3 separate regions of the Homo sapiens genome follow, and regions 1 and 3 are each linked to region 2. The links are contacts of gene promoters, found by promoter capture Hi-C in blood cells and fetal thymus (Javierre and others, 2016). All regions are on one chromosome and are shown on one strand. The core of a region is centred on a gene start or on the middle of the fragment in contact, and the rest is flanking DNA. Distances in the headings are between cores, read along the strand shown.

Evidence for each region. The method cuts DNA at HindIII sites, captures the fragments that hold promoters and counts their contacts. A CHiCAGO score of 5 or more calls a contact.
Region 1: a fragment that was not itself captured here is called in contact with the fragment with the promoter of TXNDC2 in region 2 in 1 of 17 cell types (neutrophils); the score reaches 7.3 in neutrophils.
Region 3: a fragment that was not itself captured here is called in contact with the fragment with the promoter of TXNDC2 in region 2 in 1 of 17 cell types (erythroblasts); the score reaches 5.3 in erythroblasts.

Annotation. Positions count from the first base shown.
Region 1 is chr18:9,594,228-9,597,510 of GRCh38, reverse strand. PPP4R1 (protein phosphatase 4 regulatory subunit 1) reads left to right here. Exons shown (of 20, transcript NM_001042388.3): 3 at 2,358-2,493. Among named protein-coding and RNA genes, the nearest start is that of PPP4R1, 19 kb to the left of the region's middle. The HindIII fragment of the contact is 4,261 bases long and covers 1-3,283 here.
Region 2 is chr18:9,884,328-9,887,800 of GRCh38, reverse strand. It overlaps TXNDC2 (thioredoxin domain containing 2), which reads right to left and starts at 1,828. Exons shown (of 2, transcript NM_032243.6): 1 at 1,721-1,828; 2 at 1-1,212. The coding sequence starts at 1,120. The HindIII fragment of the contact is 12,861 bases long and covers 1-3,473 here.
Region 3 is chr18:9,574,237-9,577,582 of GRCh38, reverse strand. PPP4R1 (protein phosphatase 4 regulatory subunit 1) reads left to right here. Exons shown (of 20, transcript NM_001042388.3): 10 at 392-519. Among named protein-coding and RNA genes, the nearest start is that of PPP4R1, 39 kb to the left of the region's middle. RefSeq lists enhancers at 2,332-2,842, 2,843-3,346. The HindIII fragment of the contact is 282 bases long and covers 1,855-2,136 here.

The DNA.
Region 1 (3,283 bases), core at 720-3,219, 290 kb after region 2:
CAGAATACCGACTAGTTTCCTCACACACATAAACTGTTTCAATACTCACCTAAAGACTCAAAGGGACTTTCTGCAGCTTTCTAAAGTTCTTTCTCTGTGAAGGTCCCTCCTCTCTGATACTCTCCCTCTGCCAATTCTAGCTGCCTTGGCCTCCCTGAATTCTCAACTCTGTCTCCTCAACTCCAGGAGTCTGCTGGGATTATATTTGGACCCTCCTAGTGCTCTGGAAATTATTTCCAGGAAGTTAGCTGGAGGAATATAGGGCTCATTTCATTTGTCCTCTCTTTCTCAGAGATCACTGTCCAGTACTGTCTTTTGTCCAGTGTCTGAAACCATGGCTTCGTATGTTTTATCTTTTTTTTAAGAGATGGGGGTCTCACTGTGTTTCTCAGGGGCTAGAGTGCAGTGGCTATTCACAAATGCAGTTATAGAAGAGTACACCCTCGACCTCCCGTGCTCAAACAGTCCTCCTGCTTCAGCCTCCTAAGTAGCTGGGACTACAGACACTATCAGCATGCCTGGCTCTGTCATTTTATTTATTTATTTACCATTTAAGGTGTGAGGGTTAAGTTGGTTCCTGTTAATCCATCCTTTGTCAAAAGTGGAAGATCATGTTTAAGTGTTCTTTAAGTACAGAAGTTATTTTTATTTTAACAAAAGGAACTGTTGTGTTCTCTTTTTGATAATGTTCTGTTGGGAGTAAAAATGTTATCTGTTTAAAGTAGTCAGTTCTGTAAGATGGGCCCATGGTATATACACATTTACTTTAAAAACAAGCATTTTAAAATGCCCTAACAGCAATAACAGTTCATCAGGAAATGATGAATCTTTTCTGTCTCTCATATAGCAACATTTGGGAGGAGTTTCTTAGGTGGTTTTCTTTTTCTCTCTTAAGAGCTAAAGGAGCAACGACAAAATCTCATTGTGAGTGATGAACAGATTTATTTGTTTCAAAAATACTTAAATGCTTACTTTGTGCCTGGAAATATCCTGGAGATGAAGCAGTGTATGGGATAAAAATTTCTGTCCTCATGGAGCCAATAACTTACTCTAGAGAGACAGACTATAAGTAAAACAACTAATACGTACCAGATGTTGACAGGCACTATTGAGAAAGTAAATCAAGTAATGCAGGGGATAGAATAGGAAGTGCCAGGAAATAATAATAAAAATTTCTTGGAAAGCTCTTAGGGCTTTGGGAAAGGCCCTGATTTACCTCTGGATCGCATCCTTTCCAACCCCATGGTGTTTCCATCAGTAATATTTTCTTATTGCTAAAACTTCAATTTATATTTATTTGTTGACTGTTTACTTTCATTATATAACCATGTGCAACTCTGTCTTCTTTTAAACATTAGGAACAGAACAAAATAAATAATCTTTATTTTGCTTGAATGCCCTGGCTAGTAATCTAATCCAGTTTACTATATCACAGCCACAGTTCTGGAAAGTATATTTTGTATTCATTGTCTTCACTTTATTATATTTTCCTTTACCTCTTCAGTCAGGTTTGGCTTCTCGGCTTTCATGCAATGGAAAATTGCCCTTGTCACACAGCATGGCACAAAAGTACCAAATTCAGTGGGCACCTTTCAGTTCTTCCTTGACTCCTTTGGTAGTAGATGCTGTTTAATCATACTTTCACTCATTGCTTGGTTCCTTTGAAATAATTACCTTTTGGTTAGTTTTTAGCCATTCTTTCTTGGTCTTCTCTTCCTTCTCCTGCAGCTTGAATGGGTGTCTGGCCTTTTAGTTTGTATTAATACATACTTTTATTACAATGATCATTTTAAAGTAGATTGTTTTCTGTAGAATATTAGCTCTTTGAAGTCAGAAACATTAGTATTTTCATTGTTGTTTCTCCAGCATCTACCCTAGTACTTGGCACAAATGTATTTAATAAATATTTGTTTAATGAATGTAAATATATTAATGTTTTTAGCTTTCTTCTATTAAGTGAAGTTAGATACCAGTTTCATTAGCTTTATCTTCCACATTGCAGGACTAACTATATTGGTGCTTGACTTTTTGTGTGCCTATTCACAAGTTGTTAGTGTCTTGATTGAACATGTTCTCAAGACTGGTCACTTTCCTGCATACTGAGTTTCTGTAGCCTCTGACCTTTGTGCTTTTAGAGCCAAGTAGAACTTTGTGCTTATAGAGCCAAGTAGAACATATCTGTAGGAAAAGGAGAGGAGGTATCTTTTAGTTATTTGTGGCTTCTGGATTGATTCTGAGAGTCTCTTGTGATTTTTTTTTTGTACCATTCCAGAAACAGATTTGTACTGCTTCAGACAGGCAAGGGGTACATTTTAGTTTCAAAGTGTTATAAGGAGTATTTCTGATGTCTCTGATAGTTGGTGTGGATGACTACAGCTCAGAGTCTGATGTGATTATTATACCTTCAGCCCTGGACTTTGTCTCACAAGATGAAATGTTGACGCCCCTGGGGAGATTGGACAAGTATGCTGCAAGTGAGAACATATTTAACAGGTATGTGCATATTCTTTTTGTTAAAGTGGAAGTGGAAGGGTGGTTTTATTAACTTCAGTAGGGAAAATGAAAGTATCCACTTTAAAGGAGGTATTATTAACAGGCACAATCTGAGTCACCAAGTTTTATTCATAATCACAGCATGAGCAGTTTTGTACTTGTTTATTCTTTGATCCTAGTAAGCATACAACATGCTTTCTTTGCAAAAAAAAAAATTACCATTAATTACCATTGCTTTTCTGCCACTGGACATAATTTTGGTATTCATATAAATTGCTTATTGGGAAGTACATTATTCCTTCAACACATGATGTTGTATACCTGCTGTATGACGGGTGATGCTCAAGATCATTGGGTCACACAGCAGTGACCAAGAGCCAGCACTCTTCCTACTGCATTGTGTTTGTCCAGCCATGATCCCAGACCACCTATATCACACTTTTCTGGGAAATCAAAAAGTCTTGGTTCAGATTTTTTGGGTATAGCTATGCAAAACTCATACTACTAAAAATATGTAAGGGTAACATTTTGTATAATGAATGAGTGTGTTTTTTCATTGTGATAATTGAAGGACAACTGAAATGAATTTTTGGTGACTTTTTACCAAATCAGTTAGATAAAGATTAAAAAAAAATGTTGTAAATATTCAGTCTCATCTTGTTAAAATAAAATCAATACTGCCGTTTGCCACTTAGGAAATTATAGACCTAATATATGTTTTAATAATGTAATAAGAAAAAATTTTCTTAAAAAATATACAGATTTTGTCTTTTAAAATTCTAGATATCGG
Region 2 (3,473 bases), core at 579-3,078:
TTTCTTCTTCAGGCTTTAGGATGTCACCCTCCTTGGATGGGGTGGCTTCTTCTAGGGACTTGGGGCTGTCATCCTCCTTGGGCTGGATGGTTTCTTCTGGGGACTTGGGGATGTCAATCTCCTTGGGTGGGATGGCTTCCTCTAGGGACTTGGGAATGTCACCCTCCTTGGGCTGGATGGCTTGTTTTGGAGACTTGGGAATGTCACCCTCCTTGGGCTGGATGGCTTCTTCTGGGGACTTGGGGATGTCACCCTTCTTGGGCTGGATGGTTTCTTCTGGGGACTTGGGGATGTCACCCTCCTTAGGCTGGATGGCTTCCTCTAGGGACTTGGGGATGTCACCCTCCTTGGGCTGGATGGCTTCTTCTGGGGACTTGGGGATGTCACCCTCCTTGGGCTGGATGGCTTCCTCTAGGGACTTGGGGAGGTCACCCTCCTTGGGCTGGATGGCTTCTTCTGGGGACTTGGAGATGTCACCCTCCTTGGGCTGGCTGGGCTTCACTGAGGCCTTGGGAATATTGCCCAGCTTGGGCTGGATGGGCTTTGCTGAGGACTTGGGGATGTCACCCTCCTTGGGCTGGATGGTTTCTTCTGGGGACTTGGGGATATCACTCTCCTTGGGCTGGCTGGGCTTCACTGAGGTCTTGGCAATATTGCCCAGCTTGGGCTGGATGGGTTTTGCTGAGGACTTGGGGATGTCACCCTCTTTGGGCTGGATGGCTTCTTCTGAGGACTTGGGGAGGTCCTCCTTCTTGGATTGGATGGTTTCTTCTGGGGCCTTGGGGATGTCACCCTCCTTGGGCTGGCTGGGCTTCACTGAGGCCTTGGGAATATTGCCCAGCTTGGGCTGGATGGGTTTTGCTGAGGACTTGGGGATGTTACTCTCTTTGGGCTGGATGGCTTTTTCTGAGGACTTGGGGAGGTCCTCCTTCTTGGATTGGATGGTTTCTTCTGGGGCCTTGGGGATGTCACCCTCCTTGGGCTGGATGGTTTCTTCTGAGGACTTGGGGCTGTCATCCTGCTTGGGATGGCTGGTGTTTGCTGAGGACTTGGGTAGGTCATCGCCCTCCTGTGAGGCATCAGACTCCTCTGTGCGCATGTGGAACGTGTGGCTGACCATGGGGAGAAAGGCCTTCTCTTTGGCCTGGGCTATTTCCAAGAACTCTAGGGCCAGGAGAGGCACGTTGCTGGACAGGACTAGTAATGAGCTTTCTGTACCAAAAAACATAAAATAAAATAAAATAAAATAAATCAAATAGAAATGCAAAAGAAGAACCAAAGAAATTCTCTTCATATTCCAAGGAAGACTGATGTCACTCTTCGAGATCACGAATGAAGTCTGATGAATGATGTATTAATCTGAAAAACTCATTCAGCAGAAGGACAAACAGCGTGTGGTTACACGTATCTTCTGTATACATGTTCTTAAGCTACAACTTTCCCTTCTTGGTTCAACACCCTGCCCGCTCCCTAACTGCATAGGTCTTTAAGGCAACCCTCTTTCCTCCCCTACTTACCATTAGCATCACCTTCACTTGTTTCTTCCTGAGTGCCCAGCCTCATTTCTGGTTTTCCAGAGGCTCCAGCTTTAACACTTTCCATTCCTAGTTCCTTGTCTACATCCATTCCTGATCCTTCATAGATGCCTCATAGTAAAGGCCGTACCCTCCAACTTTTTCCAAGCTATCCATCCTAACATCAAAATATGAGTAAAACTTACATTTGGGTGGCACGTTACAGTTGGTTTTCCCTCTCTGTATTCACAACAGTGATATTTGAGAGCTTCAAGGTGGCTCCCCTGTGCTGAGGCTGGGACTACGCATTCACTGGCATCATTTCCTAGAACACAACAAACCACTGAGGTCAGAACCATTATGATGAGTAGTTTACACATGAGAAGCTATGTAGCTCACTTAAGGTCACAAAGCTAGGGTGGGGGCAGGCTCCAAAGCTCATGCTCTGCACTGTGAGGCTGTGCTGGACTGCTCGCCACAAGTCCCGTCCAGCCTGGGTTCTGTGAATCAACCATCTTATCATCTTTCTCCAGGATCCCCCAGCTCCAACATTCTCTTTACGACTCACCCATTGTGACCAGCTCCTAAGTATCTCCTCGAAACCATGTTAGCCTCCTCTGCAAAGTGTCCCACAATGTCAAATGTTCAGCTCCTGCTAGACAGCCTCTTTCCCCACCTCCCCCACCTCCCAGGCGCACCAGCCCAGCCTGTGCCCTCCCCCATGCAGACACATCCAAGTACACGGCTCTTCCAGCCTTTACATACAGGAGAACAACCTCTTTGTGAATAATCCTGGTTCCATAAGCCACATCTACCCCATCCTGTGGAATGGGAAGCCAAATACCTGTCCCCCAGGGAGACTTATTTTATTAGTTCAGGACCACTGGCTCATTTTCCACCCTCACTCTGCACAACACATCCAGTCCAAGGCAGGAAGAATCAGTGTGGAATTTTGCCTTCTCTACATGTACTTTGAACAAATCCTCATATGTTTCAGTTTCACCCCAACAATATAAGTGTTGAAAGTGGTCAGGCATGGTGGCTCACACCGTGATCTCAGTACTTTGGGAGGCCAAGGTGGGAGGATTTCTTGAGCCCAGGAGTTTGAGATCAGCCTAGGCAACATAGCAAGACCCCATCTCTACAAAAAATACAAAACCTAGCCAGGCACAGTGGCACACGCCTGTCCCAGCTACTTGGGAAGCTGAGGTGGGAGGCTTGCTTGAGCCAGTGAGTTCAAGACTGCAGTGAGCCGTGATCACTACATCGTACTCTAGCCTGGGCAACAGAGCAAGGCCCCGTCTCTAAAAACTAAAAATAAAAGTGTTGAAATCTAAATGATAAGACCTCCACATTGTCAATAGAAACCTCGAAACATCTAATGGCAATGGTTCAATTATCTGGATTTTTATACCAAAACACATTTTACTAAGGGGTAGAGAGACTATTGGCCTTAGCAAATCCATAGTTCCTTTTTTTTTTTTCTTTGAGACAGTCTTGCCCTGTCACCGAGGCTGGAGTGCAGTGGCACAATCTCGACTCACTGCAACCTCTATCTCCCAGGTTCAAGCAATTCTCTTGCCTCACCCTCTCGAGTAGCTGGGATTACAGGCATTCACCACCACACCCGGCTAATTTTTGTATTTTTTTTAGTCGAGACAGGGTTTCACCATGTTAGCAAGGCTGGTCTCTAACTCCTGACCTCAAACGATCCACCTGCCTCAGCCTCCCAAATTGCTGGGATTACAGGCGTGAGCCACCATGCCTGGCCCAGCAAATCCGTAGTTCTTGATGATATGAATCCTGTTCCAGGAAGAGCTCATGCTTCCACTCCGTTTCCTCGGTTACTGCCAAAGAAAGCTCTTCCCTCTCTCACTGGGAGACTTTGGGCCTTTCTTATGTGATATTTTAAAGGACGGGAGGTTGTCTTCACTCTCCAATGCCAACGGCTTCCACAGC
Region 3 (3,346 bases), core at 746-3,245, 310 kb after region 2:
CGCTTCTTCCACCTCAGGCCCTGCCGAGTAGCTGGGACCACAGGCATGCGCCACCACGCCCTGCTAACTTTGGTATTTTTTGTAGAGACTGGATTTCGCCATGTTGCCCAGGCTGGTCTCAAACTGCTGGACTCAAGCGATCTGCCCAGCTCAGCCTCCCAGAGTGCTGGGATTACAGGCATGAGCCACTGCGCCCAGCCAGAGAAAATAGCTTGTAAGAATTTTTCAGTCCTAGCTAAAGTTCTGAATCTGGGCTTCCTTTAGAAAAGCTTCATTATTATCCTAAACATACTTCGGCATTTGAAAGTAGATTATTAAATATACATAATGTGTGCGTATATAATTCTTTTTCAAAATGATTCCTTTATTATTGTCCTTTTTATCTTCCTAGGTTCGCCAAGCAGCTTTTCAGTCTCTGGGACCTTTCATATCTACTTTTGCTAATCCATCTAGCTCAGGCCAGTATTTTAAAGAAGAAAGCAAAAGTTCAGAAGAGATGTCAGTAGAAAACAAAAATAGGTATAATTTTGAAACCATTTTCTAATTTTAAAACCTTGTTTTCTAATTTTACTGCTTTTAAACATTATTTCCACTATTCTGCAACAAATGTTATTTTTTGATAGTTTGCTATTTCTCTTGAATATAAAAATTGGTGAATATTTTTATAGAGCTTTACTTTAAGCGCATTTGTTTGTTAAGTATCTCTTTGGTTGGTTACATATTGAATGAGTAGATGCATGTAACACAATTAGCTAGATGCCTCGCACATAGGAAACTCTAAATGGTAGATTATGACTTTTAAAAAATGTTTATTTAGTACATTATTTAGTCAATCATTCATTGATATCTACAATATACAGGGTAATTGTTACACACTGTGTAGTATTTGGGTTTTTTTAAATTTGTTTTTAAGGAGTAAAACTTAATTTAGGAATATGTTTTATTGTCCTTTTCTGTCAAATAATTTAGTTGCGCATCTTGGATTCTTTGTCAATGGTGATTGTAATCTGTCAGTTAAAGGAGAAAGCCAGTATATTAGCCAGTATATCAGTTTTAAGTATATCAGTCTCATAAGGAAACCAAAGTTTTAAATAAAGCTTAAAGAGTCGGCTGTGATTTTTATTTTTAAATGTTTTTGCATTGAAAATTTTCTATTAAATTTAAATTTTAAAAATTTATTATAATATATATTTAGGGGAAAAACTAATTCAAGCCTAACTTACTAGTATGCGGGAAATGTACACAAACTTTTACAGTTATGCACTTGAAGTAATTTTAGTACAAATATTTGAAACAGTCCCTGCTATAATGCTTGAGTTACCATAGTGTCTTTTCCCTCCCTTGTCATGATGCTAATGGACATTTTCTTCTGTAGGTCTTGATACTGTGCTATTTGCTTTCTTGGTGTTTTGATTTGGCAGTTCTTCTTTCTTCTCTGCTGCCTTGTTTTACCTTTTTGCCCGTTCTCCTACTGTCCTGCTGAATAGCCAAACAAACCTGAGGTACTGTTTTTTGTAAAGGAAGAAAATCACTCAAACCTGTCTTCCTAGCAAGCAAAGTCTGTCAGTTTTTTTGAAAACAGGTGCTGCCAGGACTTTGACAAAAGTGATGATGGTGGGTGGGGAATGTTATCTATTTTTCATTTTTGAAATCAGCATACTTAAAAAATTACCTGTTTATACTGAAGACTGTTACATAACTTCTGTTTTAAAATCTGAAATGGGTCTAGTAAGAAACTATAAATTTGCAGAGAACTGTATAGGACGAGCTGGTAAACTTTCTTCTGTTTCACAACTACTCACTCGGCCTTTGCAGTGTATAAGCAGCCGTAGACATTACATAAATGGACAAGCTTGGCTGTGTTCCAGTAAAACTTCACTGACCTCAACAGTGTGCCTATCAAGGCCATGTTTGCCGCCTACCGGTGTGTAGCATTACTGCAATAGCTATTTAAAGGTAGTTCAATTCCTTGATTCTTCTTCCATTGTAATGAGGTATGTCTTAATGTCCAGGCAATACTACTTGTATTGCTGATCTTCAGTAATATTAGAGCTTATTAAATTATGTTAATGATATGGTAGGGGAAAGAGAGCATTCCTGGCTAAGGAAGGAGTTATGTTAAATATTGTAAAAGCTTTTGCATAGTTTGACAAACTATAAAGAAGTAGTCCTATATATTATTAAATCTCAGAACCATTAGTTTGTTTGCCCTCCCTTAAATAGCACAGTGGCATTTGTTTTAAGCTGTCTTAAACTGTTGTGGTATTAAGATTGATTGATTGATTATGCAAAAGTTAACTGAGCACCTCCTATGAACCAGAAACTGTAAATGGAAAGATAGAACTTCGTTCCTGTCCTCAAAGTTCTCTCAGTTTCTTAGATTCAGGTTTTTCAAACAAATGTCTTACAAAGTAAGCAAGTTTTTGGCAACATATTTCCACCACTGTTTATTGTATAGTGTTTCATCTGACCCTAGAAACATTTACTATCACTTTATTACTCTTTGAAGCATTTATTGATTCCAAACATCTGACTTACACATCAGATCTTTCACTCACCCTGGATCAGGCTGTTAATGCTTCTTTGAAAGTGCTGATAAAGCCTACTTCTCAGAAGCAGAGTTGAAATACTCAAATCTGCATTTTAAAAGTATGTAAAATAAGCATTCGTTATCACATTGTTCTCTGAATGCACCATGTTCTCTTAATTCTCCCTGTTTTTGTACTTGCTGCTCTCTGGGAAGCTTCTTGTTCCATCCATACCCTCGTTTAACAAAGTGCTGTCTTAGATGCACTGAGTTGTCCAGGAAGTACAGAGCTTTTGTCTTCATCATCAGTAGCGCTGTAATGAGAGCACTATTTTAATCCTATCCTTTTGGCTACATATTGGCATCTATCATCCAGTAGCCTCCCGGCCATGCAGTGTGGCGTCCAGCTCCTCCCTTTGTCTCCGCTGGGCCTGGCCCGTTGGTGCACATATTAATCCTGAATGAATTATTCTAGGGAAATATGGATTTGACCTCAAAAATCTGAAGTAACTAAACCACTTTTGCTGGATTTTTCCAGTTTAGCTTAATGCTAACTATATGAAAAAAAATTATTAGCACAAATTTGGAAATATTTCATGAATGCTAAAACTTCATTGAGTTAATTCACAGTACTTGGAAGGTATCCTGGAGCGTGTTTGCTTTTATCTCAGGATACAATACCTCTTTAGCCAGATGTTCTACAAGTCATTTTCTCCTTGAAATACCTGTAATTAATTTTCTAGGCCCATAGTCTCTACTAAGGAACTCTGAAGATATTAATTATAAACTTATGTAGGCACAAAAAGACACTTAAGATTC